Linked DNA regions of Homo sapiens: region 2 is linked to region 1. The links are contacts of gene promoters, found by promoter capture Hi-C in blood cells and fetal thymus (Javierre and others, 2016). All regions are on one chromosome and are shown on one strand. Each heading gives the region's core, a stretch centred on a gene start or on the middle of the fragment in contact. The rest is flanking DNA. Distances are from core to core; before and after follow the strand shown.

Region 1 (2,700 bases), core at 179-2,678:
CCCTGCCTAAAAAACATTTTTAACGAAAAAAACATATTTTAGGTAAGAATAAATGTCAATTGTATAGTGTATCAATTATATCTCAATAAAGCTGTTACAAGAACAAAATGTATGTGAAAAGTCACCAGTAAAGAAAACCTGCCATTATTACTAAGAGCCAAATCTGTGGTGATTTTTAAGAAGCTCCCACCATGAAGGAAAAGGGGATCTCACCTGAAACTAACAACAGGTCCAACCTCAGAAAAGATGTCCTTCAACTGCTCTTCAGTAGCTTCATAAGGAATGTTCCCCACTAAGGAAGAAAATAGGTAACATTAAAATTCTGAGTTTATAACATAGATCTTTAGTGAGAAAGTAAACTTATATCATCAAATATAAGACTCAAAATAGTGTTCTCCAATCCCAATTCCATTGTATTTCTTCAGACCTCTTAACAAAGGAAATATACCACTGAAACTAAATACAAAATGTGTAGGTACTCTCAAATGTTAGTTCTCAGACTGATCTGACACGTGTTAGATTTTCCTTAACTTTGGTGCAAATAAATACTTTGGCACTGGTATTTACCTAAAGATCTGCAAGTCTCATCAGTGACTACAAAAAATATCAATGTTATTTAATATAATTTTTAAAACAGGTTCCTATGTATTTCCACACATACAACATTTAAGGGAGAATGACGATGAATGTAGTGAAAGATGTTTAAAAAGTATTCTGAACTACTTTGTCATGTCCCTTTCAAATGGTACTCTAAAATAATCACACGTATTTTTAAAAACAACTTATTTCAGCCAAAAAGATAATTCAGAATCGTTTCGATCCTTTTTAAAATTCCTCTGAGGAGATCTTAATAGTTCATTCATTCATTCACTTACAAGCCATCTCAGGACACCAGGTGGCCGCTACCACTATTGATGCACTAAAATGTTACAGATAAAAAGCAAAGGATGAAAGTCCTTAGGAGAGGACAGTAAGTGGACACTAGGATCTATACCCTCAGCATATAGTCTGTATTCTGGGGCAGAGGATGAGAAGTAGTACGGGACAGTGAGGAGCTGTTACCGTGAGCCTTCTCCTCTAGAGAATAATTGAAGCTCATGAAAGGAGAAACGCACAGAAGCTGAACGCTAGTCTAACTTCCCCACTGATATTGCGGAAAGCCTACGAGACCTCGGCAGAATGGGAATATCTCTTTGCTCATGAGTCCACCAGGTTGGACGCCCTACAGGATAAGCAGGGAGAACTGCACGTCCGAACCGTCAGCGGCTCCGGTAGCGATTCATGAGATAGAAGGTGCAGAGGGGAGTCCCTCCCCGAAGCTTGACTACAACGAATTCCTCTCACCGAACACAGAACGTAGAGAACGATCCACCGCTGGGTCTCTCACAGTCAAACCCGCCATAGCTCTGTTGAGTCGGCTTCCGGTGCGCCAAAGCACACTTCCGTACGGAGCACAAGCCCAGCGCTGAGCACGCTTCCGTACGGCGCGTGAGCCGGAAGGGCCTGGGCGGAACGGACGCAGAGCCCCTCCCCTGGAGACATTCTGTTAGCCGCAGGCGCGAGTTGCGTCCACCGGAGGGCTATATTCTCACTCCTGAGATTAACTCTGTTCCGAGCCAGATGCAGGCGAGTCCAGGCTAATTTGAAGGGTTTCAGCCTGCAGACTTCCTTCTTATTAATTTTCTCTTAGGTTGATGCAAGTACTCCTCAACCACAATAAAGGCGCAGCGGCTTTACCATGGTAACAGGGAAGTCCTTTGCTGACAACTGTGGGGCTTGCATTTTAGTTCCGCCCTATCAAGGGAGGGAAATGCTTGGGCCCGTCCCAGCAGCGTGCATATTATTTGCTAAACCTGTTCGTGTGTGGAGTGAGATGAGGAAAGGGCATGCCAGCCGAGAGAAGCATAGTTAAAGAAATGGGAGAGGTAAAGGGAGAACAGACCTCTGTCCTCGTGTAGTCCGTGGGTTCCATGTGCTTCGTGGTGGGGCGGTGCGGCAGGGGATTCTGGCAGGCAGAGTATCGGAAACAGAAAACGTCATTCATCGGTTTTTCCACACTTTGGTGCCCACGCGCCTGGGATATGGCATGCAGGGCAGGTCGTTGTATCATCCCGGAAAGGCAGACCCTGCCGGGGTTGGAGGAAATCCAGGGGGCACCTCAGGAGGACAGGGTTAGGGGATAAGCAAAGGAAGGAGCCAAGAGCGCTACCTTTGAGGGACTTGTCCGAAAAAGGAAGACGGTAAAATAGCCACGGAATTGGAGGCATGGACGTTTTTATTAATTCCACATGTATTAAAAGTATATGGGCCGGGCGCGGTGGCTCATGCCTGTAATGCCAACACTTTGGGAGGCCGAGGCGGGCGCATCACCTGAGGTCGGGAGTTGGAGACCAGCCTGGCCAACATGGAGAACCCCTTTTCTACTAAAAATACAAAATTAGCCGGGCGTGGTGGCGCATGCCTGTAATCCCAGCTGCTCAGGAGGCTGAGGCCAGAGAATCGCTTGAACCCGGGAGATGGATGTTGCGGTGATCCGAGATCTGCCATTGCGCTCCAGCCTGGGCAACAAGAGCGAAACTCCATCTCCAAAATAAAAGTATATGAAATATGATAAATATTTAGAAAAAATTAATAAGTGCTAGTTTACACCATGAAGCATATCACTTTAAGAAGTAATTCTGGTAAAGATGGAAAGTTTGA
Region 2 (2,700 bases), core at 97-2,596, 3.3 Mb before region 1:
GGAGGCCAACGTGGGTGGACCACCTGAGGTCTGGAGTTCAAGATCAGCCTGGCCAACATGGTGAAACCCTGTCTCTACTAAAAATATAAAAATTAGCCAGGCATAGTGGTACACGCCTATAGTCCCAGCTACTCAGAAGGCTGAGGCAGGAGAATCGCTCGAACCCAGGAGGCGGAGGTTGCCCTAAGCCAAGATTGTGCAACTGCACTCTAGCCTGGATGACAGAGCAGGACTCTGTCTTTAAAGAAAAAAAAAAATCTGAATATTGCAACCATTCAACCTCAGGGACTGTTAGTGCTGTGACTGTCTTTGTTAATGAAAATTGCAAATATAGCCCAGAATCCAGTAAATGAGTAGGCACAAAATTGTCATAATCATAAGGTCCTTATCAAGTGCATTATTTTTAAAATCTCCACATTTTTCTTATCAGGTACCAAGAAGGAAGCAAAATTAAGGTTAAGTCAAATATCTACCAATTAACAAGCTTCCTACTTCCAATGAAAATTTGTTTTACAATCACTAAACCCAAGGCAGAATTTCAGCACTCAACTATTTGAAATCTGATTTTTGGGTTGTTGCCTGAATTGACAAATGATGTGATGTGAAGGAAAAAAGTGACACATACAACTCCAAAATAAAAGAACTCCCTAAACTTTGCCCGATATATGATTTAGCTGTGTGCTTCTCCCTGAAAAGAAATGGCTGGAAGCCTATGGTCCTCTCAAGCACCATCTTGAGGAGGGGTAAGAAAGCAGAACATTGCAGAAGGATAATACATTTAAAAGGCAAGGTAGCCTAGGACAGAAACATCATGTGCTGTGAATATCGCTAATTTTGCTTCCCCTACTCTCTGCTGAAAAGGATACAGAGCATTAGAACCCCTGCCACCATGCCAAGCCTTGCGAAAAGTAGGGTAGGAGAGGGAAGTTAAAAAAAAAAAAAAAAAAAGCAAGCAGTAACTAGGAAAAATGCTTGACTTGGAAAAACTGGGGCTTGCAAAGAACCTCCTTCTCCCCTCCTCACTGCCCCATTGAAAAACAGTCCTGACCTCACCACAGTCTTTAAGGGAAAGAAAACACAGGAAAAAACGGGGAGGAGGAAGGAACAGAACAAGTTGTAAGAAACATATTATTCTCATAACTTCACTCCCCATCACCTCTACCCAGTTTTGGCAGTACTTACCCACAGCCTCTGCCCTCACTCCCTTGCCCTCATCATCACAGCAGGATCATTCTGAAATTATTTAACTTTCCTGGGTATGTGACTTGCTCCAAGGCTGCAAAACTTAAATGCCAAATATGTACAAAGGTATTCTTTTACATTATTTTTCAACATAAATAACCCTAAGCACACTTGATTTCATGAATATGTTACATTCACATTACAGTGACATCAGGGGTTAAATAGGCTTCTGTGAGTTGGTCTAGGAAACCATAAGTTCTATTTGTAACACTGGATCAATTAGTTCTGCTCCAAGTTTAATCATTGGCTTCAAAGGAATAGTCTTGGATTTGCTTGACTAGGTTTTATGACCTTGAACTCAATCTTTTCTTTCTGGGCCTGTTTCTTCATTTTTTGCAATGACGATTTAGAGTAGTCATAATAAATTTACTGCCACTTCCTTTTGAGATGTGTTATACTGATATTCTGATTATTTAACTATAACACCTTGTTTCCATAGACTATAACTTTCATTTATGTAAGAAACATCTTTTACACATTCCTTGTATCTGGTAGAAGCTCATTCAATCTACAGACTGATTTAAGGGAAGGGAGGGGAGAAATATGCTAAAGACATTAAAATATGGAAGAATTTGATCAAACTCACATCATAAACTTGGATCAGAAGTCAGAACTAGATTTCTTAATTTATCTCCAGTATTTTCCATAGCTGAACCCCTCTCCTAGAGCCTTAACCACACACCCCCCCAGCCCTTTGTATATGTATCTCAAATATCCACCTATGTTAAAACTTGAGGCTGTATCTAGAACGTCTTCAACCCACCCCCCAAGATTTGATCTAACACGTAAATGCTTGCATGAGAGAAGTCTCCAGAACACTACCTTCTACTGAAATCAGTTAGGAGGAGATACACCCTCTGAATAAATTTGTGTAAGTCAGTCCATCCTAAGCCTTACTCTGTCTCTTCAAAGGGGAAGGAAACCAAGGGATATGTCATATGAAGGAATCCTCCAGATTTAAGCTTACCAATTTTGGCAGAGCCTAAAGCGCTAAGGCAAACAGTTAATAAAGGAGGAGGAAAAAAAGAGAGAATCGACTAGTTTCCTAGCGCTCAACTAAAAAAAAAAATGGGGTAGGGGTGGTGGCGGCGGGGGGAACAGGACTGTGAGACAGATTAAAAATAGGGAAAATGAAGCTTCTAGCTTTAAATGTTCCACCTTTCAACGCCACTTTTCAAAAGATCTATGGATTGATCTTGAGCCATCCAAATTCCTCTACAGCGTACCGGAAATGGAAGGGGTTAAACTTTTGCAGATGGATGCAAACAGGGGCGTATCTAAAAATCAAGGGTGGGGGTTTGGGATTCGTAGGGTACAGATGGGGGGAGGGAAGGGAAGCAAGGGAGGGAGAAGGTAGGGAAGGGAGGAGTCGCTATAGCCAGAATATGAATGAGGAAAAGAGAGTAAAACGCCGGTCGAAAGGAAAATAGGAGGGCAGGGGTGAAAATAGGGAGGGGG

What was found. Contacts are between HindIII fragments. The CHiCAGO score rates a contact against its expected background, and 5 or more counts as called.
Region 2: a fragment that was not itself captured here is called in contact with the fragment with the promoter of CSTF2 in region 1 in 3 of 17 cell types (non-activated CD4 T cells, fetal thymus and naive CD4 T cells); the score reaches 8.4 in non-activated CD4 T cells.

Annotation. Positions count from the first base shown.
Region 1 is chrX:100,819,119-100,821,818 of GRCh38, reverse strand. CSTF2 (cleavage stimulation factor subunit 2) reads right to left here and starts at 1,428. Exons shown (of 14, transcript NM_001325.3): 1 at 1,345-1,428; 2 at 214-292. The coding sequence starts at 1,402. RefSeq lists enhancers at 1,197-1,356, 1,637-1,686, 1,697-1,756. The HindIII fragment of the contact is 13,366 bases long and covers 1,322-2,700 here.
Region 2 is chrX:104,167,127-104,169,826 of GRCh38, reverse strand. The region is part of intron 1 of FAM199X (family with sequence similarity 199, X-linked); the gene reads right to left. Among named protein-coding and RNA genes, the nearest start is that of FAM199X, 2.0 kb to the right of the region's middle. The HindIII fragment of the contact is 1,720 bases long and covers 487-2,206 here.